Regions from separate parts of the Homo sapiens genome. Here regions 2, 3, 4, 5, 6 and 7 are each linked to region 1. The links are contacts of gene promoters, found by promoter capture Hi-C in blood cells and fetal thymus (Javierre and others, 2016). All regions are on one chromosome and are shown on one strand. The core of a region is centred on a gene start or on the middle of the fragment in contact, and the rest is flanking DNA. Distances in the headings are between cores, read along the strand shown. Region 1 holds the start of TMEM177 (transmembrane protein 177). Region 2 overlaps LOC105373989 (putative cuticle collagen 91). Region 3 has its middle 46 kb from the start of INHBB. Region 4 overlaps RALB (RAS like proto-oncogene B). Region 5 overlaps RALB (RAS like proto-oncogene B). Region 6 has its middle 7.5 kb from the start of TMEM185B. Region 7 has its middle 25 kb from the start of TMEM185B.

What was found. Contacts are between HindIII fragments. The CHiCAGO score rates a contact against its expected background, and 5 or more counts as called.
Region 2: a fragment that was not itself captured here is called in contact with the fragment with the promoter of TMEM177 in region 1 in 1 of 17 cell types (monocytes); the score reaches 5.7 in monocytes.
Region 3: a contact is called between a fragment that was not itself captured here and the fragment with the promoter of TMEM177 in region 1, in 9 of 17 cell types (activated CD4 T cells, total CD8 T cells, total B cells and 6 more). The highest score is 9.7, in activated CD4 T cells.
Region 4: a contact is called between a fragment that was not itself captured here and the fragment with the promoter of TMEM177 in region 1, in 1 of 17 cell types (naive CD8 T cells). The highest score is 7.5, in naive CD8 T cells.
Region 5: a fragment that was not itself captured here is called in contact with the fragment with the promoter of TMEM177 in region 1 in 9 of 17 cell types (total CD8 T cells, non-activated CD4 T cells, total CD4 T cells and 6 more); the score reaches 12.6 in total CD8 T cells.
Region 6: a contact is called between a fragment that was not itself captured here and the fragment with the promoter of TMEM177 in region 1, in 8 of 17 cell types (total CD8 T cells, non-activated CD4 T cells, total CD4 T cells and 5 more). The highest score is 13.3, in total CD8 T cells.
Region 7: a contact is called between a fragment that was not itself captured here and the fragment with the promoter of TMEM177 in region 1, in 2 of 17 cell types (total CD4 T cells and non-activated CD4 T cells). The highest score is 6.6, in total CD4 T cells.

Annotation. Positions count from the first base shown.
Region 1 is chr2:119,677,391-119,680,932 of GRCh38, forward strand. It overlaps TMEM177 (transmembrane protein 177), which reads left to right and starts at 1,811. Exons shown (of 2, transcript NM_030577.3): 1 at 1,811-1,886; 2 at 3,442-3,542. The coding sequence starts at 3,464. RefSeq lists a silencer at 1,658-1,887. The HindIII fragment of the contact is 6,463 bases long and covers 1-3,542 here.
Region 2 is chr2:120,329,418-120,332,959 of GRCh38, forward strand. The region is part of intron 1 of LOC105373989 (putative cuticle collagen 91); the gene reads left to right. Among named protein-coding and RNA genes, the nearest start is that of INHBB, 15 kb to the right of the region's middle. The HindIII fragment of the contact is 6,192 bases long and covers 1-3,542 here.
Region 3 is chr2:120,297,916-120,301,457 of GRCh38, forward strand. No RefSeq gene overlaps it. Among named protein-coding and RNA genes, the nearest start is that of INHBB, 46 kb to the right of the region's middle. The HindIII fragment of the contact is 2,162 bases long and covers 820-2,981 here.
Region 4 is chr2:120,280,764-120,284,305 of GRCh38, forward strand. The region is part of intron 2 of RALB (RAS like proto-oncogene B); the gene reads left to right. Among named protein-coding and RNA genes, the nearest start is that of RALB, 30 kb to the left of the region's middle. RefSeq lists an enhancer at 2,870-3,383. The HindIII fragment of the contact is 1,412 bases long and covers 1,017-2,428 here.
Region 5 is chr2:120,255,711-120,259,252 of GRCh38, forward strand. All of the region lies in intron 1 of RALB (RAS like proto-oncogene B), which reads left to right. Among named protein-coding and RNA genes, the nearest start is that of RALB, 4.6 kb to the left of the region's middle. The HindIII fragment of the contact is 628 bases long and covers 1,263-1,890 here.
Region 6 is chr2:120,229,136-120,232,677 of GRCh38, forward strand. No RefSeq gene overlaps it. Among named protein-coding and RNA genes, the nearest start is that of TMEM185B, 7.5 kb to the left of the region's middle. RefSeq lists enhancers at 2,023-2,072, 2,805-3,014, 3,255-3,542. The HindIII fragment of the contact is 1,026 bases long and covers 1,356-2,381 here.
Region 7 is chr2:120,196,927-120,200,468 of GRCh38, forward strand. No RefSeq gene overlaps it. Among named protein-coding and RNA genes, the nearest start is that of TMEM185B, 25 kb to the right of the region's middle. The HindIII fragment of the contact is 6,427 bases long and covers 1-3,542 here.

The sequences.
Region 1 (3,542 bases), core at 561-3,060:
TCAAATCCAAATTCAAATTTCTCCAAGATGCCTTTTGTTTGTTTGTTTGTTCCTTTGTTTGTTTGAGACAGAGTCTCACTTAGCCACCCAGGCTGGAGTGCAGTGGCACAATCTCGGCTTACTGCAACCACCATCTCCCAGGTTTTAGCGATTCTCCCGTCTCAGCCTCCTGAATAGCTAGGATTATAGGCGTGTGCCACCATGCCTGGCTAATTTTTGTATTTTAGTAGAGACGGAGTTTCACCATGTTGGCCAGGCTGGTCTTGAACTCCTGACCTCAGGTGATCTGCCCTCCTTGGCCTCCCAAAGTGCCAGGATTACAGGCGTAAGCCACCGCGCCCAGCCCAAGGTGTCTTTTTTACAGTTAGTTTATTTGGTTCAGGATCCCAATAAAAGTCACATATTGCATTTAACTGCAATGACTCTCAAGTCTCTTTTCTTTTGAGTCCCCCTCCTTCCCTGTTTATGCCATTGATTTGTTGGATAAACCACGTCATTTGCCCTGTAGAATGTCCCACATTCTGGCTTTGGCTGAGGTCACATTGCACTATTTACATACAAACAACTGAGCAGCCAAAATTGGGGGGGGGGGCTCAGAAACAGAACAGACTTTAATAATAATAGCTAATGGCTAGGCGGCACAAACCGTGAGGCACAGGTTACATATACACCAACTCATTTTATCACACAGCTAGTAAGGGGTGGAGCCCGGCTTTAACCCTAGGCAGTCTGTTTTCACCCTCTGTAAAGGATTGGGCATGGCTGTGTTCCAAGAAAACTTTATTTACAAAAGCAGGTGGAGAGCTGGATTTGGTGCACAGATTAGATGATCCCTCATCTACCTCACAGAGCAGCTGGAAAGGAGAAATGACAGATGGCACGCTGCTCTGTGGACTGTACAGTGTGAAGCACCTGGGAGGAGCTTGGGGGGCAGCGAACATGGTAATAAACATAAAGCTCAGAGCTCCCCGCCAAGGGTGAGCGCTTCCAGACGGAGAAGTACACGGGCCGGCCAGTCAGATGGGCATGGGTTCTGATGGGGGCCCTGCCATAGGCCGCCTGGTGACCCACGCGGGGCTGCCGTTCCTTCGGGGGTTCAACGGCATGATCAAAGACACCGGGATGTGTGTGTGTGTGTGTGTGTGTGTGTGTGATGATCAAAGACACCGGGGTGGGTGTGTGTGTGTGTGTGTGTCATGATCAAAGACACCAGGGTATGTGTGTGTGTGTGTGTGTGTGTGGCATGATCAAAGACACCGGGGTGTGTGTGTGTGTGTGTGTGGCATGATCAAAGACACCGGGGTGTGTGTGTGTGTGTGTGTGTGTGACGGAGTCTCGCTCTGTCGCCCAGGTTGGAGTGCAGTGGCGTATTCTCGGCTCACTGCAACCTCTGCCTCCCAGGTTCAAGCGATTCTCCTGCCTCAGCCTCCCCAGCAGCTGGGGACTACAGGCGTGCGCCACCACGCCCAGCTAATTTTTGTATTAATCAAAGACGCATTTCAACGCAGAGGAGGAAGTGCTAGCGGACCCACCCCAAGGTGCACAGTTAGAGAAGGAGCCTCTGCGGCGGCCGGAGCCCCCCACGGACATCCCCTTGAGGCCCCCCCAGCCACACCCCCAAGAGTCCCGCCCCCAGACCCGTCGAGCGAGCTCCCCTCCCTGAAATCCTCGCCCCGAGATCTCCGGCCGGCGAGCTCCGCCCCCTGAAGTCCCCATCCCAAGATCCGGGGCCGGCGAGCTCCGCCTCCCGAAGTCCCCGCCCCCAGATCCCCGGCCGGCGTGCTTTGCGGCCGCCCTGCCGCGCGCACATGTAGGCGTTCCGAGCGGCGGCGGAGGTGAGCGCACGGACGAGCGGGAGGGACCCTTCTCCGGCCTGATGCGACCCGGTAACGCGTTCAGACTGCGGAGTAGCCTAGGGGCCCAGAGTGGAAGCGTAGCGAGGACCCCTCTGCGGGGCTCCTGCAGCCCCTCCTCCCCCAGCCACCGGCGGGCTGCATGGTACTGTGTTCTAGGCCCACCCCGCAGCGCGATGGCCCTAGGGACGTTGGACTTTGGTCCAGACCTTTCCTTTCTTAGCCTCACTTTCCGCATTGGGAAAAAAAAAAAGCCCGAATGATAATGATTCTTATAGGAGTTCTTGATTAAGATAGGCCAAGCGGTACCCTGCGTTTTTGTTTGCGGCAACTCATTCGTTGCTCATTAAGCACTTTTCACGGACAGGAATACAGTAAGTTTCAATCAAAGTGAAATAATTGTGAATTTTTACTGACGTATTCACGGATGAAGTGATAGGATGCCCGGGGATGTTTCAAAATAAACCAGTTGGACGGAAGTGTGGTGGAAAGAGAAATCAAACAAGATTGGCCATGAGTTGATGGGATTGAAGTTGATGGATGTACTATTTTGTCTACTTTGGTATATGCTTGTAATTTGGCATAACAAGTTTTCTAAAACAAAAAGTTTGCTGTGGACACCTGACTATGCCTGTGTTAGCTTGCTAGAGCTGCCATGCCGAAGTACCGGAGACTGGGTGGCCCAACCAGCAGAAATTTGTCCTCTGGGAGTTATGGAGGCTGGAAGTTCAAGACCAGGGTGTTAACAGGGTTGGTGTCTTCTGAGACCTCCCTTCTTGGCTTGTAGGTGGTAGCCTTTTCCCTGGATCCTCACATGATCTTCCTGCTGTGCCTGTTTGCATCCTAATCTCTTCTTATAAGTACACCAGTCAAATTGGATTAGGATCCATACTGATGGCCTCATTTTATCTTAATTATCTCCTTAAAGACCCTGTCTCCAAATACAGCCACAGTCTGAGGTACTGGGGGTTAGGACTTAAATATATGAACTGGGGAGGAGGAGGAGACACAGTGCAGCCCATAACACTGTCACTTCACTAGCTTAGGATTTTGGCCATTTAAGTTTTCACAGCTTTGAAATAGGGTTAGCTGTAGTAATTAGGTCATGGGGTTGTGAGGGTTCAATCGGTAAGAGTGCTCAGAACTGAGTCTAGCATATAGTAAGCACTCAATAAATTGAACACGTTTTTCCTTATAAATTAGTAATCATAGGGCTTTACCATGGGATGAGTGGAATGAGGCAGTTGGAGTGCCGTGCCCAGCGATGGGAATAAAAGTCATTACAGCCATTATTATAAGGAATATCTGCTGCTGTGCCAGACACTAAATGTTTTATGTATGTTTATTCATGTGCTCATCACCGCCACCCTAGAGGTGGGCCATTACGACACACCTGTTTGGCACATGGGGAAATTGACGCACAGAGACGGAGCTGGGATTTGAACACAGGCACTCTGGCTCTAGAGCCCACACTCTTCACCACTATGCTGTGTTACTTTGGTTTAAAAAGGTGGTGTGGACCCTGGAGGATGTTCAGTCTGCAGGCTGACCCAGGGAAACTGGCTGACTTCTCTTTTTCTTGGCCCAGATTGTCCGCAGTGACTACACTCATGGCAGGTCCCCTGTGGCGGACCGCAGCATTTGTGCAGAGACACAGGACAGGCCTCTTGGTGGGTTCCTGTGCAGGCC
Region 2 (3,542 bases), core at 697-3,196, 650 kb after region 1:
GGTGAGCAGTTCCATCCACCGCTTCTTGCTTTGTCAAATGGGTAATCCTGGCAGCTGCCAGGCTCATTGCTATTTGCAACTCTACCTGTTGGTTAGCTCCAGGTGGATTGCCCAGACCGGGCCACCCTGTTACTGCTGGCTTTGGGCCACTGGGATCTCTCAGCTACTGTCACTCCCCAGATGTTAATGTCTGCCTGAAATCCCAGGGCAGGAAGGGACCCAAAAGGTCATCTAGTTCTCCCTCCTGCCTTGAAGTGAGACCACACCTAAGCTGATCCAGACAGCCGAGGGTCAGGCCTGGTGGTAAAACCTGCAGAGAAGCCTCCCCCGGGTAACTTGTTCCAGGCCCCTCCATCGGGAGGCACTGACACTTTCTCACTTCAGATCTGGTTGCTGCTCATTCCCGAGGGGTTTTGGATGCCCCTCTTGAACATCTGCTGGTGTGTTGGGGGAAATAGGAGCCTGCCATCCTCGCTGCAAGGGTGGAGTGAGCCAAGAATGGAGAGTGTGAGTGTGTGTGTGGGGCTTTCGGGAGGTCTTGCTCCCTGTCTGCCAGGGGCCTGACACTCCAGGGGCAGCCCCGACTGGGAAGTGCCCCAGCCCTGCTGGTGGACAGTGAGTCCAGTCCAGAATCCTACTGAGCCCAGCCTCTTGTTCTGGAAGAAATGAAGTTTCAGTAGGAAAGAAATGAGGGCAGAGCAGGAGGAGTGAATCCGTCAGAACTTACATCTCTTCACTCATTCAGCAAATTCTTGCTGGCCCCCGCTACATGCTGCTTGGGGATAGGGGAGAAATGAGAACTGGAGGGTGTCCAGGTTGCTTTGGCTGTCGGAGAGAGGTCCCAGCCCAAGGTTGTAGGGCACCGGGAGAGCCTGCACAGTCTTGTGCTGTCGGCAGGGGTGTGGGGGGTTGAACATATTTGCAGAGCCCCACCTGCCTGCTCTGGCTCTCTGGAATGGCTCCGCTGTGTTGGGAACAGCTGGTCTTCGCTGCACTTTCCTATCCAGGCCATCCCACAGCCACCATGGCCTGCAGTGGAGCAGGCACCCAGTAAAGACAGGTGATGGTTCTTAGAACCTGCTGTACACCATCCCACCCCTGACCCAAGTGAGGCTGCCGGGGGCACATGCAGCTCCAGGCACTCAGCCTACATCATCTCCCCTGACCCTGCCGGCACCTCTGCTGTGAGCCATGTCCCCTCGAAACTCATATGTCCAAGCCTGAACTCCCAGCACTTCAGAAGGTGACTGTATTTGGAGATTTGGAGATAGGGCTTCTAAAGAGATAATCAAAGTAAAAAGAGGTCATATGGTTGGGCCCTAATCCAGTGTGACTGGTGTCCTTATAAGAAGAGGAGATTAAGACACAGACACACACAAAGGGAAGACCGTGTGAAGACACAGGGAGAGGACGGCCACCTGCAAGCCCAGGAGAGAGGCTGCAGGAGACATCAACCGTGCCGACACCTTGATCTTGGACTTCCAGCCTCCAGAACTGTGAGAAAATAAATCTTGTTGTTTGAGCCATCCCGTCTGTGCTACTTTGTAAGGGCAGCCCTAGCAAACTAACACAGCTTCCGCGGAGCGGGATGTCATCCCCATCTAACAGATGAGGTCTGTAGCGCTGCCAGATGCCACACAAGGAATGCCGGGCCAGTTCCTAAACCTCCCTGAGCCTCTGTTTCCTCATCTGCAAAGAGGGATTAATGATAATTTTGTGGTAAGGATTCAGTGAGATAGGACACAATGCATGTTTGTTCCCCACGCATGCCTCGGCCTGATTTGATTAAGAAGCCCATGGGCCTGGGGCAGAGGCTAGCTGTGAGTTCTGCATGTGGTTGACAGCTGGTGTTGATGAATGGTATGTTAAAAATAAAACCCAAACCAAAAAGCCTTTTGCACTCTATGGAGAACCTGAAATCGGAAGCGCTCAGTTTCATTAGTTGGCAGACGTCTCTGACTTGTGAACCTGACCGGGCACCCTGGGACTCCCTATGTCAAAGTCTTCCTACGGCAGCCTCCAGCGAGGTGGGGGAGGGTGAGAGGGCGCGTCTTCCAGGCACTGTCTGCCTGACTTGACCCTGGTAAAGTGTACACGGGAACAGAGCCCTAGGGACCAAGCCCTCAAGCCCAGGGGCAGAGCTAGCTGCCCGCCTGTAGGCACCATTGGTGCAGTGTCAACCCAGTGGATGTTCCCTGTTAAGCCTGTGCCCTGCTCAGCTCAGCTCGGCTGTGGGAGTCAGCTTCCGTCTGCCTGGAGACACCCGAGGGTGCAGAGCAGCACGTGCAGATATGTTCCTGGGGGCGGGTACCACTTTCTCTTTTATTTGGAAGTTGTCTTTCACAATGAAACAGCCTTTAAGCCACATAACCTTTTTCCATCCCTGAACCTGGAGGGGCCATCGAAATCCTCAATGTCACTCTGGGGGAAGCTGATTCTGGGAGGGACCCAAGGGGGAGGGCAGGCAGGGGCCCTTCTTTGGGTTGGTCCAGAGACCTACTCTGTACCACTCAATTATATTTTAAAATCTATCTGTACGCTTTCACACCACAAGTCCTAAAGCATCTTTAATTAGGTCCCACACACAGATACACACACCCAGCTCAACAATGATAGAAAACGCCAAATTCCAGTTGACAAGGAGCCAGAAGCCCAGCCTTTCCTCTGGCTAAACAGAGGGACCCATTATGCTGGAATATTATTTTCTCATGGTTTGGAACCATTACATCAGCCTTGATGTAATAACATTGTTTAACTTCAGAGGTGTATTTATTTTGGTTTGGAGTTCAGATAGTTTAGCCGTTAGCTGGGGATTGAGCAAAACCCAGACAAAGCCACTAAAGTTTGAAATGAACCATTCTGCCGTTCCCCTTCTCTGCTCCCCAGAATAAATATTCTTCAGATGTAGTTTCATCTCACAGCAAAGGTGGTGACCTGGCTGCTGATAAATTTTGGAGGCAATTTTTTTTCCCCTCTGGTGGTTGGCCAACATGATGATGACCAGCTGGGCACTGAGTGGGTAATCAAGCCCCAAACCCAGTAAGGACTTGGGAATTCCACCAGCAGCTTCTCTGAAGATAGCCTGTGATCTTTCCACGGTTCCTCCATAAGCCCAGCTCTTCTCCTTAAATAACTCGCTACAGGTGGCGCTTTGATCGGTCACCGTGGGGACACAGGGGATGGCTCTTGTTAGCGGCTGAGCCCAGAGGGCCAGGTCTCCAGACAGGAGCTCTTAAGAGCCCCAGAGAGTAACTGGAGGCTTCTAATTGTTTCCTCTGAGCCCAATCCTTGGAATGGGTGGAAAAAACTCTGGTATCTGGGCTGTGATATCCTCTGTGCTGGAGTGCAAGTGACAGGAACTGTGAAATGACCACTGAGGCCGGGTGGTGGAGGCGTGGGAGCCCCAGGGCTTGTTGGTTGGGGAGCCCTCCCAACTGCATGTTCCTTCTAGCTCCATGCATTTCTGTCCCACCCTCCACAGCAACACCACCATGGGGAAGAGTTTCCTGGCAGGTCCACTTGCTCATCAGCCATTCTTTCCG
Region 3 (3,542 bases), core at 651-3,150, 620 kb after region 1:
TCATGGATCGCGCGATCTCATTTGGACTGGTTACTTTGTAGGAGGTGAGATTTGTATTGGACACTTGGATCAGTTCCACACTTTTCTGAATTTCACGTCTTCCTTTCTTGGTTTTCATCCTCGTTTTGCTGGAGTGCATTTTCGGGAAGGACGTGATGGAGAGCTTTCAGAGCCCCTCGGCATGTATGACAGTATGGGTACTTTTGCCCTTTATTTGATTGCTAGTTCAGCTTGGAGTAAAATTCTGGGTTCAAAATTGTTTTCCCTGGGAATGTGGAAGGCTTGGCTCAGAGTTCAGGAGGGTGCATCATCACTGATCAAATTGGTGCAGCCCTCCCTGGTTGTCCCTTTGCAGTGGGGGCCCTGGCTTTTCCCTCTCTCCCGTTATCGGGGCCTTCTCCTTATCTGCAGGGTCTGAAATGAACACAGCTGTGGATCTTAAGTGTGGCTGTTTTGTGACTCATCCTGCTTGGTAGTCGGCAGAGGCTTCCAATGAAGACTCCTGCCTCTTCAGCTCTAGAAAAAGTATTTTTGAAATTCTTTGATCGCTTCTGTTTTCTCCTTCCAGAGCTCCTGTTACCACCTTTGGAACCTCCTAGATTCATGTCTGCTCCATCCATTTCCTATATTTTCCATCTTTATTTTCTCTCAAATTTATCCTCCCTCCCTGTGTTTTTCCAAGCACTTTGCCAAGCACTGTTGTAAGTTCTTGAGATAGAGCAGTGAGCAAAACAGACAAATTCCTTGCCCTTTGGAAGCTTACACTAGTGGGATCAACTTTGTCTTCTCACTTGCTCACCGTGTGTATGTGTGAACAAAAGCTTTCTTTGTCTTTATTTGTTCCTTTTTCATAGCAACTGTTCTTGGCGGCCTTACGGATTCAATATCTTGACTTTTGAAGGATATTAGATCTTTTGAAAGTTGTATTTTTATTCACTTTTTCTTCTTTATTTTTTAAGCTGCAGTTTTTCTCACGTATCTAATGATTCCTGCTTGTCCAGCCATATTCTTAGGAGGAAATAGAAAGTCGGCCAGGAGTTCCATGTACATGAGTGGGGCTTGTGAAATAGCAGGCTTGACTTTGGGGTGAATGGGTAGAAAACCAGTCATAGTGCTGGGAACCCCTAATGCCTAATCGAGGGAAGGTGTGCTCTGGGGGCCATTGGCCAGGCTGGATGCCTTGGTTCACTCCAGGCAGTTTCTTCCAAGAGAAAAGCACTGGTGATGGACAGAGCTGCCTGCAGGGGTGGGGTGGACCGTGTCCCACACAGACCTCTACCTAGGCTCTCTAGCCACGCACCGTGGTTCTGCTGCTCCATCTGCCGGTTCAGACTGAGCCGGTCCTGTTGCCCTCATCTCAACAGATCCTTCCTTATCGAACGGCTCACGTCTGGGTTTCAGCTTCTGTAAATTTGTCAGATTCACACATCAGCTAGTGACCCTTCCATTCTCTTTGCCCTTTGGGTTTTTTAAATACTATTATTTGAAGAGAGGCTTCAGGGGAGACTAACTTTTGGGCTCAGCTTTCCATTTTGCCCTGGTTTCATTGTCACAAATACTTAAAATTTCCTTTTTTTGCAGATCAATGTTAAATAAAGATTAGAGTGAACACATTGATTTGACTTTATGCAGGGGTCATTTTGAACTTGAGGGCCTATGGCAATCTCTGTTCTCCAGGAGTATGGACCTCAGCATTTGGGGTCAGACCTGGGTCTGGCCAGTTGTCTTTATTTAATTTTTGAGACAGGGTCCTGCTTGGCCACCCACGGTGGAATGCAGTAGTGCAATCATGACTCACTGCAGTCTTGAACTCCTGGGCTCAAGCAATCCTTCCGTCTCAGTCTCCACAGTAGCTGGGAATACAGATGCACGCCACCATGCCTGGCTAATTTTTAAATGCTTTTGCAGAGATGGGGTCTTGCTATGTTGCCAGACTGGTCTTGAACTCCTGGGCTAAAGCGTTCTGCCTGCCTTGGCCTCCCAAAGCGCTGGGATTACAGGTGTGAGCCACCATGACCGGCCTGGTCAGTTGTCTTCTGATACCAACTTTCAAGTGAGGGAATTGTGAGTTTTCACTAAGCCTGTGTTGATTTCACTTATATGTTTTGCTTTTACCTCTTGGTGATCAGTTTATTACCTGTGCAGGTAACAACCTGAACTGCCCGTGTGGAGTAGTACATCCTTTGTCTTATCTTTTTTGAAATGTAGCTGACTTGGGATGTTCTCTTGTTTTTATATGGTCAACAAATCTAAGTTAATTTACCTGTGCTGTTAGCGGTTTTGTAGATTTTTTGTTCTCAGGTTTGGGACGATCCTGCTTGCCAGCTGCAGTTGGTGAGTTACCTGCTCCTTGGTGATGCTGCTTTTTAAAATGCATATTGTCAGTGCAGACTTCCTGATTTCCTTTTGTAAGTTGCTACACGAGGCCCGCTTTGAGGACTTTTTAGAAAGGATGTAGTACAAGTTTTAAAACTAATTTGGGCCCTTGGGTTTAAGGCTGTTCTTCTCTATTTGAGTAGATATGAATGAAAAAAGAGACTTCCTCCAACACCCTTCCGCCCCAGCCTTTGTCTAATTCAAGTGCTAGAGCTTGTCCTGACACACCGCAGCTTGCTGTTCATTTCTACTTGTTCAGTTGTGTGCCACCAAGCTAGACGTGTTCAGTCACACTGACAGTACTGTCAGGATGATTCATTGCCACACACGTAGCTCAAGTCGGAATGGGGCCTCTGGTCGTGTCTGAGAAGCACAGAAACCTGGCTAAGCTGAGGATTCGGCCTCCCACCCAGGTTGGTGAAGGTGCTGCGGCCTGGGAGCAGGAACGGAGCCCCCAGCTGCCAGGAGTGTGAAGCTGCTTCTCCGCAGTGCAGCCTCCACAAGCCTTCTCAGGTGGCAGTGAAGAAGGACCAGATACCTAAACAGTTTTCAAGTTCCGGAATCCTTGGGAAAGTTAGTGTCCATCAACTTCACATGTTAAAACAAGCTTACGGCTGGGCGCGGTGGCTCACACCTGTAATCCCAGCACTTTGGGAGGCTGAGGCGGGTGGATCATGAGGTCAGGCGATCGAGACCATCCTGGCTAACACAGTGAAACCCCGTCTCTACTAAAAATACAAAAAAAAATTAGCCGGGCGTGGTGGCGGGCGCCTGTAGTCCCAGCTACTCAGGAGGCTGAGGCAGGAGAATGGTGTGAACCCGGGAGGCGGAGCTTGCAGTGAGCTGAGATTGCGCCACTGCACTCCAGCCTGGGCGTCAGAGCCAGACTCTGTCTCAAAACAACAACAACAACAACAACAACAACAACAACAACAAACCAAGCTTACTTATTTCTAGTAGTTAAAAACATCTCAAGGTGAGTGTTGCACAGGAATCAAAGGGATGAGCTGGTTAACTTCTTATGGGCTAAGTCATCAGTTACTTCTTGTGTATTTTCAGTAGTTGCAGCTGGGAAAGTTTTCCTAAAATCTGATTTATGTGGCGAAAACACATGTATGATATTATTTTAATCCTGTGGTAAAACTCTGTGAGTCTAGACTGCCTTA
Region 4 (3,542 bases), core at 473-2,972, 600 kb after region 1:
GCTGTCAGAACAAAAGACATTTTCATTAACCATGCTAAAGGAAAGACTAAATTATTTTTTATTCTCTATAGGAATGTTTCAAAATCATTGGCATATGACAAGAAAAAGTATACAGCAAACAAAAAAGTAGAAGGTATTCTAGAGGTATGTCAGGCAGTTTAATTAATAAAAATATTGTTATTTTGCTGGATTTTGTGATGTCAGTGCTGTTTGTATTAGTTTTTTTTATTACTGTATAATAATCACAAAGTTAGCAGGTTAAAACAACATACATTTGTCATTCCATAGTTTCCATGGGTCCAGAATTGGAGCCTCAGCTGAGTCCTCTGCTCAGAGTCCCACAAGACTCCACTCAAGGTGTCAGCTGGGGCTGTGACCTCTTCTGAGGCGTGGGGGTCCTCTTCCAGGCTCCCTAATTGTTGGTAGAATTTAGTTCCTTGTGGGTGTAGGACACAGGTGCTCGGATTCTACAAGTTGCCCGCAGGCCCCTGCCATGTGCCGTCTCCATAGGCAGCTCATACCACAGTGGCTTGCTTCTCCAAGGCCGGCAGGACAGTCTCCAGCCAGCCTAGACGGTCTTATAAAATGAAATGGAAACATGGGGGTATTCCCTTCGCCTCACTGAGAGTCACCCGGGGGTGAGATCGCTGGAGTACTCATCTTTAAAACTTTATAATGGATTATGATTTCTCATTCAATGTCAACATTTACTTTAATGTCCAGTATTACGTGTGTAATTTTGTATCTTAAGGAAGGGCCCCCATAATGAATAAGCTTCAAACCCAAACCTGGTTATCCTCCTGGGTCATGCTCCCCATGTCTTATAATGAGACACTTTTGTGTTTGGTACCTGCTTTTCTTTATCTTATTCTGGGGGGTCAAACTGGATAAATCTAATGTAATCTGCTGAATTTCCCCAAAACGTTTTTGCATAAGAGAAGCAGGTTGGGAGATCTGCATCTGCTTTGTAGGTCTTTTGTTTGTTTTTGCTCAAAAACTTATAATTTGCTTACGAAAGCTTTTTTCTCCCCTATAACAGAGGTTGGGGAAGAGAGGGGGTGGTGAGTAGGGGAATTAGGATTAGGGAGATAGGATTAGGGAAGTAGTTGTTAACAGAGGTGAGAGAGGGGGATTTTGCTTCCCCAGGGAATATTCGTAAGTGCCTGGAGACATTTTTGGCCATCACAGCTTGGGGGAAGATGCTACCAGCATCTAGTGCGTGGAGGCCAAGGACGCACTCAGCATCCTACATCACACAGGACAGCCCCGAACAAAGTATTAGCCAGCACAAAATATCCACAATGCCACTGTTGAGAAACCTGCATTAGAGGCAGAGCCGTGGCAGATCCAAGGAGAGAAGATTCCCCTACAGTGTTAGTGATTGAGAGGCCCTGGGTTGCCAGTTCCAAGAGCAAGTTCAGATACAGAGCTGGGGCCGGGCGCGGTGGCTCACGCCTGTAATCTCAGCACTTTGGGAGGCCGAGGCGGGCAGATCACCTGAGGTCAGGAGTTCAAGACCAGCCTGACCAACATGGAGAAAACCCATCTCTACTAAAATTACAAAATTAGCCTGGTGTGGTGGTGCATACCTGTAATCCCAGCTACTTGGGAGGCTGAGGCAGGAGAATCGCTTGAACCTGGGAGATGGAGGTTGCAGTGAGCCAAGATCGCACCATTGCATTCCAGCCTGGGGAACAAGAGCGAAACTCCATCTCAAAAAAAAAAAGATAACAGAGCTAGCACTGCTGAGGAGACTAGGAGAGCCTGGTCTGGAGGTTTCTGGGTGTGTGTGTGTTGGGGAGGGGGGCGGGGGTGGGTAAGAGGAGGGGGCAGATGCATGCAGAAGATTCGAGAGTTTTTTCTCTTCTTTCTGTTCTCTTCACAGAGACCAGGGAAAGCTGTGCCTGGCCTTAGTCTGTTTTTCTCATGGGCTAACATACTTGAGAACTGGAAAGTGGCAGTTATTGAAGAAATTGTAAAATAAAATTGGGGCAAGGAAGGAATAGAAATGAAGTGATGTATGTTTGGGGGAGGAGTTCTAATCGATTTTCTAAAACGGTGCTAATAGAAACTTCCATGATGATGAAAATGTTCTGTATCTATACTGTCCAATACAAGTGGCTATTGTGCATTTGAAATGTGGCTGGTGGCTACTATATTGGACAGAATGGTTCTAGAATCATAATTTTTTAGCTCGAAGAGACCTTAGCAGTAATTGTCAAACCTAGCTGATTATAGAATTTCCTGGGAGACTTTAAAAAAAAAAAACACCTCCTGAATAATATTGGTGGAGTTGGAGAACTGGGACTCTTTCAGTGGTGCTCTTCTGGTGGTTCTGCCGCGTGGCCAGGTGTGGCAGCTCCTGCCTGAGAGATCATCTAGTCAGGAAATTGAGCTCTGTGTTCAGGGAGGCCGGCTGTCTAAATCAAGCTTGTCCAACCTGTGGCTCAGGATGACTTTGAATGTGGCCCAACACAGATTTGTAGACTTTCTTAAAACATTCAGAGATTCTTTTTGCAATATATTTTTTTAGCTCATCAGGTATCGTTAGTGTTAGTGTATTTTATGCGTGGCCCAAGACAGTTTTTCCGATGTGGCCCAGGGAAGCCGAAAGATTGGACACCCCTGGTCTAAAGTCTCCTGCACCATTCAGACTCTTTGTTCATAGTGCATGCTTAACCCTTATTTAAAATTGTTTAGCTTATGTGATGGAATTTTCATGAAGATTAGATTATGGAAGGAGCCATAGTCCCAGAGTCTTTATTCTTGTCTAAGTTCTGACTTTGAGAAAAATTGGAGGGAGCTGCCAGGGTGGCAGCAGTCAGATTTTAAGCTCCTTATGCTCGGCCTAACATACTCGTTTTTGCCTTTTTTGGGAGAGTAAGGTTGGGGATGGAGAGGCTTTGGCAGCAACCGTTTCAGACTTTCAGTCTCTGGCAGCTTAGAGGAAAGTCAGCTTAGAAAGAAAGGGTCCACGTGAAGTTTGTCTTAGACTCTTGGGCATCTGAAACTGAGCCATGCAGAGCTCTGCAAGGCCAGTAGGGGATACGTATGGTTCACGCTAATGGATACAAAGACTTTGTGATTTTCTGTTTCCAGCTGAGCAATGTAAATAAACATCAGGGTTGTAATGGAATGTTGGGGTAATCAGCATACTTTTCATTGAGTACAGAGGTATGTAGGTACAGCAGGACATTCTGACTTCTGTGTCAAAGGAGCCAGTGGAACTCTGGCTGGCTTTATCCTTGGAAGCTCAGAAATATACAGTTGAGATAATTTATGGTAGAATTCAGAGATTTTCAGGGGACAGTCGTGTGTTGGATTTTTTTGGCGTGTATTTTTCTTTTTGGAAAGGAGTTAAAAGAAGGACACTTGAAAGCACAGGCAAGTTTTCACATCTCTATTTGGAGATAATTTATTAGTACACGTTGAAGAGAACCTAATACTAAACATGTCTTAATATTTTTATTTTTGAGTAGCTGTTAACTGACAATACAAGGCTCTTTTTAACAGTCTTCCTCAAATAACCTTTAATTCACTTG
Region 5 (3,542 bases), core at 327-2,826, 580 kb after region 1:
ATTTCAAGTTTGTCACTTTAAAAAAAGTAGCTGCTTATAATTTTCCTTAGTGTTCTCCTGGCTGTTTTTGTTTTTGGTGATGGTGGCTAGTTGTTTTTTAGTTGAAATCTAAATGCAGAAAAGAAAAATGCCATTAATTGATAATTACCAATATATTGTTTTCATTGTTGCTTTTGTCAGTGCTTTGTGGGCATTTTTTATATATAGCATTGTTCCAAGCTATACGGCATGAGATGAAGGAAATATAGTAGTTTGGTCCTGCGTGCCTGGCTGCCTGTAAAGTTTGCCTACCTTTTGAATGAGTTTTCTGTTGCTGCATAACAAATTTCCCCAAACTTAGCAGCTTAAAACAACAGACATTTATGATCTCACACAGTTTCTGAAGTTGAAATCTGGGGACAGCTTGGCTGGGTGCTTCTGGCTCATGGTCTCTCCTGAGGTTGCAGTCATCTGAAGCTCGACTGGGACCAGAGGATCTGTTTCCAAAATGGCACGTTCACATGGCTGTTGGCTGGAGGCCTCAGTTCTACACCATGTGGGCCTATGCACAGGGCTTTTCACAACATAGCTTTTCTCCCCAGAGCAAGTGATCTGACGGGGGTGGGGAGAGAGGGAGAGAATGAATATGATAATGATCAAGATGGAAGCAGCAGTATATTCGTGGCTGATATGGTTTGGCTGTGTCCCTACCCAAATCTCACCTTGAATTGTAATCCCCATAATCCCCATACGTTGTGGGAGGGACTCGGTGGGAGGTAATTGAATCATGAGGGCAGTTTCTCCCATACTGTTCTCCTGATAGTGAGTTCTCACGTGATCTGATGGTTTTACAAGCGTCTGGCATTTCCCCTGCTGGCACTCATTCTCTCTCCTGCTGCCCTGTGAAGTGGTTCCTTCTGCCATGATTGTAAGTTTCCTGAGGCCTCCCCAGCCCTGCGGAACTGTGAGTCAATTAAACCCCTTTCCTTTATAAATTACCCAGTCTCGGATATTTCTTCATAGCAGCATGAGAACAGACTAATCCAGTGTCTAATCTTGGAGATGGCATACCATCCCTTCTACCAGCATTCAGACCAGACCTGGCACAATGTGGGAAAGGACTACAAGAGGGGAGGTCAGGGCACATCAGTATTCTTGGAGGCTAGCCACCACAACTTTTTTAAGGTTTAGTCCAGACATCATTGAGAAAATCTTTCTTTCAGATGTTTACTGAAGTATACTGTAGGAGATGGAAAGACAGCTGAGGTCTTTAGTATTGTAGAAGCTTTAATACTATATGTGAAACTTTTATGTTCTTTCTTCCGGTTCTTTGTTAGATGCTGGAATTAGCCAAGTATGCAGTAGCTTTGGAAATAGAAATTCAGATCTTGCTGGTCCCTAAACCAAAAGGAACATCTGAATTTTTTTCTTTAACCCCAAAACAAGTTGGTAAAAAAATATTGCCAAAGTAATCTCCTTTGATGAATGGCTTAAAATTAGTCATTCATTATCTGTGTGTTCTTAAAAATAAAACTCATTGGCAAAGTAGCTGAAAAATTTTGGGGAACCTAAACCCTCTTACTCCTCCCCATTATTTTAAAACTTTGGATACTGCTTGTTTGCCTAGCAGTTCTTCAGTTCACTTTTGAGACCCTCATACATTTTAATTATTGACCTGGATAGAAGGGCGCTATTCTTTTAGCTCCAGATGAAATCTTCCTGAAGTGCCTATAGGTGGAGAGAAGAGTTTCTGGATCCTGAGCCTGAGCCTGGCTAAATGACCTCTAAGTCCCTTCCATCTCTGAAAATTCTATGATCCTTATTTTTTTTTTATAACGAATATCCTTTGAGTTGTGCATATTTATAACAAAATATTTCATTGATCATGTTAAATTGCAACCTCAGAAGACAAGCTTTTCTGAGAATAGCTTTTGTTCTTCCCAATCCAGTTGAAGGTTGTTAGAGTCACTGTTAGGCAGAGTTGAAAAGTCAGCACTATTTGCACTTCCTCTGCTTCCTATTTTTGGCCCCTTGCCCATCCTCTGCCCTAATTTATGAGCTAGTATCTTTCTTTTCTTTCATTCTACTTTCCTTGTAATCCCCCTCCTTCCTCCCACAGGAAGGATTGGTGGCCAGTCCTTTACTGCTGATAGCTGATGCTATTGTTAGGAATGAATTTTAGCCAATGTGTTACCTCTAGTAATACTTGCATGGCAAACCTTTTAAAAATCTCAAATTATATGTGTTCATGTAGTAAACACTGCCATTTTTTAACATCCTAAGTAGCCCTAAAATTTAGTCACTTTCCTCATGTGCATTGTTGTCTCCTTAGTCCCCACCGTGTTGCCGGCCTGGCCTGGTGCATACCCACATCTGCTCTTGACCCCTCTGTTTTTCTACTCTGTAGCCAGAATTACCTTTTCAACATTCAAGCCTAATTATGTTACCCATTGACTTGAAACACTTCAGTGGCTTTCCAGTGCTTTCAGTCAAAGGTCCCAAATCCCTCAACTTGGCCTACACTGGGGTCTTGAATGATCCCGCCCTTCCTTACCTCCTCAGTGTCATCTTGTACTGGGCTCTGCCTCTTTCTCTCTGCTGCAGATAGCTGTGAAGGTCTTTCTCGAGTTTCTTGAGTGGACTTTGCTTCCTCTTGCTTCAGGCCTTCCTGAATGCAGTGTGTGTGTGTGCAGGCACGCGTGATTGGGGGTGGGGGAGTGTGGAGGAGTCCTAGGTAGGAAAGCGCTTGGCACATTCACAGGGCTGGAAGAAGGCAAGGAAAAGGCCACGGAGGCCACGGCCAGTGGAGGGTTTAGCTGCCGCTCATGGTGAGCCTTTAAGGAGCGTTAAGCACAGTTTCATGTGCAGTGTTAGAAGCCCCATTGGAAGGGCTGTGTGGAGAACAGATTGAAGAGGGGCTGGAGTGGTAATGAGGGGTCACTTAGGAAGCTGGGGCTGTTGAATGAATGGTGGCAGAGAAGATGGAAGAAGTGCATGGCTTTGAAATGTATGTTGGAGATGGAATAGCTAGAAATGGTCATGAATTGAGCTGGGGAGAGGCAATGGGAGTCAAAAATGACTTCCAGGTCCCTGGCTTTGGTAACGATACGGATACTAGCGTGTCCGGAATTGGTGGGTTCTTGGGCTCACTGACTTCAAGAATGAAGCCGCGGACCCTCGCGGTGAGTGTTACAGCTCTTAAGGTGGCACGTCTGGAGTCTGTCCCTTCTGATGTTCAGATGTGTTCGGAGTTTCTTCCTTCTGGTGGGTTCGTGGTCTCGCTGGCTCAGGAGTGAAGCTGCAGACCTTCGCGGTGAGTGTTACAGCTCTTAAGGTAGCGCGTCTGGAGTTGTTCGTTCCTCCCGGTGGGCTCGTGGTCTTGCTGGGCTCGGGAGTGAAGCTGCAGATCTTCGCGGTGAGTGTTACAGCTCATAAAAGCAGCGTGGACCCAAAGAGTGAGCAGTAGCAAGATTTATTGCAAAGAGTGAAAGAACAAAGCTTCCACAGCGTAGAAAGGGACCCCAGCGAGTTGCCAATGCTGGCTCGGGCAGCCTGCTTTTATT
Region 6 (3,542 bases), core at 619-3,118, 550 kb after region 1:
CCCCACAATATTACATTAAGGGTAGTGCAATACTTTACTCACCCATTGCATTGTGTATTTGAGTTAGTTTCATTCTTTTATGAAATGAAGGGACTGCGCTCTATCTTACGGCTTCTTTGCATCCAGATTGTTTTTAAGGGTAGATTCTCAGACACAGACATGCCATGGTGAAGGAATGAATACAGTAGTCCCCCCTTATCTGAGGTTTATCTTTCCAAGTTTTCATTTACCTGCAGTACACCGAGGTTTGAAAATATTAAATGGAAAATTCCAGAAATAACTCCTAAATTTTAAATGACACTCTGTTCTGAGTAGCGTGACAAAATCTTGCTCCATCTAGCCTGGGACGTGACCCCTCTCTTTGTCCAGCATCTTCACACCGGGCGTGCTCCCTGGGCGATCACATCAGCTGCCGCCAGATCACTGTCCCTCTGTTCAGGTCACCCGTGTTTGACTTAATAATGGCTCCAAAGCACAAGAGTACTGTGCCTAATTTACAAATTAAACTCTATCGTAGGTGTGTATGCACAGGGAAATACATAGTGTGTATAGGGGTTTGGTACTATCTGCGGCTTTGGGCATCTACTGGGGGTCTTGGAACATATCCCCTATGGATAAGGGGGGACAACTTCATTCTAAAGACCCTTGACACATAAAGCCTAGTGTGTCTTTTTTTTTCCTTTTTTTTTTTTTTTTTTTTTTTAGATGGAGTCACTCTGTCACCCAGGCTGGAGTGCAGTGGACTGATCTCGGCTCACTGCAATCTCCACTTCCTGAGTTCAAGCAATTCTCCTGCCTCAGCCTCCTGAGTAGCTGGGTGGTACAGGTGCACCACTATGCCTAGCTAATTTTTGTATTTTTAGTAGAGATGGGGTTTCACCATCTTAGCCAGGTTGGTCTCAAACTCCTGACCTCAGGTCATCTGTCAGCCTTGGCCTCCCAAAGTGCTGGGATTCCAGGCGTGAGCCACTGTGCCCAGCCTTTTATTCTGTTTTCTGTGTTATCTTTGAGGAAATGGAGTCAGTGCCACCCCGAGTTGTGGTGTGAGTCTGCTTGTATTGATAGCAGCTGGCAGAGCTTATTTAGAAAACTCCACAGGGTTGAAGAATTAAAGAGGCTGAAATCAAAGGTAGACTCAAGTATAGGGCTGTATAATATTAAAAGTCAACTAAAAACAGGGCTAGTGTTGACATGTTTGTGAGTGTGCAAATGCAGAAGTCAGGGTTTTCCGCGTCAGATCACAGCCTTCAAATGTTATGAACAACACAGTGAGCATTGGGATCATTTAATTTGAGGCATTCACATATAATTAAATATAATTAATTCAAACTAATATTTTGTGGAGGTGAGTGGGAAGCTTCCTGAATTATGGAATTAGGCAATCCAGGTATCAATTGTACTTAAGTTGACATTACTAAAATATTTTCAAAAGTTTTCATGTACAATTTAAGTTTTTTCCCCAGTCTTATTTGCACTCTTAATTTACTCAGCAAAACATTTTTTTCTTGGACAAAGGTCATTCCCAGCCCGGCTCTCACCTGGCTTTGTCATAAATTCCAAGAGAGTGTGATGTGGACAAATGATGTGCTTCCTGCGTCAGAAACAGACGTTTGTAAAATTGTAATCCTAATTTCACTCTGGGTTGCCTTTCATTCTTCCATTGCCAGGTGCAAAGCAGCAAAAAAGTAAAATAAAATAAATGCCTCTGCACGCCACTGAGAGCCAGGCCCTGGAGTTACCCCATGAACAGTGTGGGGCTCCTGACTTAAAGGGGCATCCAGCAGTATAGCAGGCAGCACGGCCTGATGACTCGGGCCACAGGAGCATGGCCCTCCCCTGTCAAAGCTGACTTCTCGTTTCTCAGGACAAAATCCATACGCTTTACCGTGCCCTTCAAGGCCCTGGCTGACCGGCCGTGGCCCATCTCCCTGGCCTCACCTCACTGCCCATGGGGCTCCTATGGCCACCTCAGCTTCTTTCTGCTCCTCAGACTCCCAGACTGGAGCCGTTGCTGCCTCAGGGTGTTGCTTTATGTGTTTTCACAGATGCCTTTAGGGGAGATAGACCTAAAAGAGTCTGGGCAACATGCACAGCCTCCAAGCAGTTCACTCATCACTCAGCTACTATGGCCAGACTGCCTGCTAGTGCCCGGTAGGTGCCAGGCCCTGGGGAAGGAAGCAATGCCCTGTGGCCCTTGTTCCCAAGGACCGAGCACTTTTCCACGCAGTTAAGGTGCACAAACACAAAACACCGAATAACGCTGAAAGAGCCCAAGAGAGGACCAGAGGTCACTGGGCTGAATATGATGAAAAGTCAACTAAAAACCAGAAAAAAAAAAAAAAAAACATTGGAAATAAGCTATAGGGCAGCGATCAGGGAGAAGCTTGTGCTCTGAGCTGCAACAGAACCCCAAGGAGACCACTATCAAGAGGGTGCCCTGGTGTAGTTAAGCATGGGCCAAAGAAGGGACCACCTGGGTTCAAACTTGGCCTTGTCATTTCAGCAGCTGTGTGTCCTTGACCAAATGGCTCAGCCTCTCTGAGTCTAGGTTTTCTCATCTGTACAATGGGGATAATAATATCTACTTCACAGGATAGAGGTGAGATAATAGAGATACAGGCCTGGCACATTCAGTAGATGCCCGCATGGGCACGTACTCCCCTCCCACGCCCCACCCTGTGCTGGTGTAGAAGAGAGTGCCCAGGAAGATCTGTGCTCGAGTCAGCTGGGCATAACTAAGGACACCTTAAATTGTGTAACCAGGTGACAGGCACCTCATTCATTCTCCACCCTGGGGCTGGTTCTGCTTTATAAATTAAGGGGGCCAGGGTGGCCCAGAGGTCCCCAGATGCAGGTCCAAATGCAGCATTGCTGGCTACATACAGGCAGATTCTGGGGCCTCACCCCGAGAATCTTGGTGATTCAGACTCACCAAGTCAGAATCCTTGCGGGTGAGGCTCGGAAACCATTTTTGTAAGTCTTCCCAGGTGATTCCAAGTACAGCCAGGTCTTCGCACCCACACAGCCAGACGGCCCCTGAAAAGCTTTCTCAGCCTTTGCAGTCTGTTTCTGGCCGCATCAAATGTGCTGAGCAGTGTGGGTTTGGTTCAGTGTTCATCCCCCACTTTCATCAGAGACAGGGGGCTTCTCTTGGTCCTCACTCATGGGAGGAAGCCGCAAGCGGAGACGACTAAGTGGAGAAATAAATCTCTAGCAGCTGCCTGCTGCCCTGCTCTGGAGGTTGTCTGCGAGGAGGAGAAACGGCTAACTTCCAAGAACTGGGGTGCTTTCTCCCCACCTATCAGCTGAATCGAAACTGAAAATATGCCTCCGAGGCTGGAGATCCGTGACAGGCTTGAAACCTTGACAAGCCAACCCTTCTCATGTGGCTGCTTTCCACCTAAGAAAGAAAATGAAACTCCTCGGAGTTCCTGCTGGTTTTAGATTTTTCTCTGGTACAAACAAAAATTATTTACTGTCACTGAGGTTCTTTCCAGATTACCCCAAACAGCCATAACTTTCCCAGCTTTATCTGGGGGGTA
Region 7 (3,542 bases), core at 723-3,222, 520 kb after region 1:
AAATGAGAGAAGACACAAATAACTGAAATCAGAAATGAAAGTGGGAACAGTAACAGTTCTATTACTACCAACCTAATTAAACAAAGGATTATAAGAGAATGCTACGAACAATTGTATGCCAACAAACTGGATAACCTAGATGAAATGGATAAAATCCTAGAAACACACAACTCCTCAAAAGTGTATCATGAAGAAAATCCTGGATAATCTGGATAGATCTATAACTAATAGGAGATTGAAACAATAAAGAAAAGAACAAAGAAAAGTCTAGGATCAGATGGTGTCACTGCTGAATTCTATCAAACATTTAAAGAAGAATTAACACCAGTCCTTCTAAAATCTTCCAAAAAAATAGAAGAGGAGGGAATACTTCCTAATTCATTCTATGAGGCCAACATTGCCCTGATACCAGAATCAGATAAAGAAAATCATAAGAAAATTACAGACCAATATCCCTTAAGAATATAGATACAGAAATCCTCATATGAATATTAGCAAACTGAAGCTGAGCACGGTGGCTCATGCCTGTAATCCCAGCACTTTGGGAGGCCAAGGCGGGCAGATCATGAGGTCAAGAGATCGAGACCATCTTGGCTAACACGGTGAAATCCCGTCCCTACTAAAAATACAAAAATTAGCCGGGCATGGTGGCGCACGCCTGTAGTCCCAGCTACTTGGGAGGCTGAGGCAGGAGAATCGCTTAAACCCAGGAGGCGGAGGTTGCAGTGAGCCGAGATCACACCATTGCACTCCAGCCTGGGTGACAGAGCAAGACTCTGTCTCAAAAAAAAAAAAAAAAAGAAATATTAGAAACTGAATCCAACAGCATATTAAAATGATCACACACAATGACTAAGTGGAATTTATCCAAGAATGCAAGGGTGGTTCAACATCAGAAACTTAATCAAAATAATACATCACATTAGTAGAATGAAAAAAAAAATCACAGAATCATCTCAATTGACACAGAAATGGCCTTTGACAAAAGCTAACACTGTTTCATGATAAAAACACTTAGAAGTCCAGGCACGGTGGCTCATGCCTGTAATCCCAGCACTTTAGGAGGCCAAGGCGGGCAGATCACTTGAGGTCAGAAGTTCGAGACCGGCCTGGCCAACATGGTGAAACCCCGTCTCTACTAAAAATACAAAAATTAGCCATGCATGGTGGCACATGCCTGTAATTCCAGCTTCTTGGGAGCCTGAGGCATGAGAATTCCTTGAACTTGGAGGTAGCAGTTGCAGTGATCTGAGACCACGACACTGCACTCCAGCCTGGGCAACAGAGTGAGACTGTGTCTCAAAAAACCAACCAACCAACCAAACAAGCAAACAAACAAAAAAACCCACTCAGAAAACGAGAAGTATATGGAAACTTCTTCAACATGGCAAAAGCCATATATGAAATACCTAGAGCTAACATCATACTCAATGGTGAAAGACTGAAAGATTTTTCTCTAAGATCAGGGTCAAAACAAAGATGTGCACTTTACCACTGCTATTCCACGATGTACTGGAAGTTCTTGCCAGAGCAATTAGACAAGAAAAAGAAATGAAGGGCATCCAAATTGGAGAGGAAGAAGTAAAACTCAATTCGCAGATGAAAACTCCCATATATAGAAAATCCCAAAGAATCTATAAGAAAGCCACTAGCACTAATAAATGAATTCATCAAAGTTCAAGGGTACAAGATCAACACACAAAAATCAATTGTGGTTCTATATATCTGCAAGGAACAATCTGCAAATGAAATTTAGAAAATAATTGTACTTAATAATACCATCTAAAAGAATAAAATACCTAGAAACAAATTTTACCCAAAAGATGACTTTAACCAAGAAGATGAAAACTTACACAGTGAAAAATTTTAAAAATGGCTAAAAGAAATTAAAGAAGACCTAATGAAATGGAAAGACATCATATGGTCATAGGAAGATTTGATATTGTTGTCAGTACTACCCAATGCTATCTACAGAGTCAATGCAATCCTACTCAAATACCAACAGCGTTTTTGCAGAAATAGAAAAACTGATCCTCAAATTCATTAAAAAAAAAAAATCCCCGCAAGGCATTAAAACACACACACACACACACACACACACACACACAAACTTGAAGTTGCCAAAACAATCTGTAAAGGCAGCACAAAGTCGGACTCACACTTCCCAATGTCAGAACTTACTACAAAGCTACAATAATCAAAACAGGTTTGGCATAAGGATATATGGTCCAATGGAACTGAGAGTCCAGAAATAAGCTCATATGTCTATGACTGATTTTTGACATGAGTGCCAAATGGTGAAAGAACTATCTTTTCAACAAGTGGTACTGTGACAACTGGATTTCCACTTGAAAAAGAATGAGGTTGGCCTCTCCCCTACATGGTTCATAAAATCATGTAAATAAAATATTCATAGAATTATTGATCAATGGATCAACAATCTAAATATAAGAACTAAACTTGAAACACCTGGAAGAAAGCATAGGGGTAAATCAGGTCCTTGGAGCTGGCAATGGGTTCCTACATATGACACCAAAAGCATGAGCAACACCAACAAAGAAAAATTGGGCTTTATCAAAATTAAAAACTTTTGTACATGAACGGACATTACCAAGAAAAGTTAAAAGACAAAGTACAGATGGGATAAAATATGCAAAATATATAATTGATAAGAGATGAATCTCCAAAATACATAAAGAACAACGCTCAACAAAAAAAGATAAACAATCCAATTAAAACACAGGCAAAGGTCTTGAATAGACATTTCTCTAAAGAAGATATGCAAATGGCCAATAAGCACATAAAAGATGTCAATATCCTTAATCATTAGGATAATACAAGTCAAAACCACAGTAATACAACTGCATCATCTACTAGGATAGCTATACATTTTATTTTATTTATTTTATTTTATTTATTTTATTTTATTTTATTTTTGAGATGGAGTCTTGCTCTGTCGCCAGGCTGGAGTGCAGTGGCGTGATCTCAGCTCACTGCAACCTCTGCCTCCCAGGTTTAAGGGACTCTCCTGCCTCAGCCTGCCACATAGCTGGCATTACAGGCACGCGCCACCAGGCCCAGCTAATTTTTTGAATTTTAGTAGAGATCGGGTTTTACCATGTTGGCCATCATGAGGTCTCGATCTCCTGACCTCATGATCCGCCCACCTCGGCCTCCCAAAGTGCTGGGATTATAGGCGTGAGCCACCAGGCCCAGCCGCTATACATTTTAAAAAAGGAAAATGTTGATGAAGACATGGAGAAATGGGAAACCTCATACATTGCTGGTAGTAATGTAAAATGGTGCAGGTGCAGCCAGTGTGGGAAAGAGTTTGGCAGTTCCCTAAAAAGCTAAACATAGAATTTCCATATGATTCAGCAATCCTCCCCCAAAGCATATGTTCACTAGAGTTTAAAACAAGGACTCAAACAGATACTTGTAAGTCAATGTTCACTGCAGCATTATTCATAATAACCAAAAGGTAAGAACAACCCAAATGTCCATTAATGGATGGATGGATAAATATACAATGGATATACCAC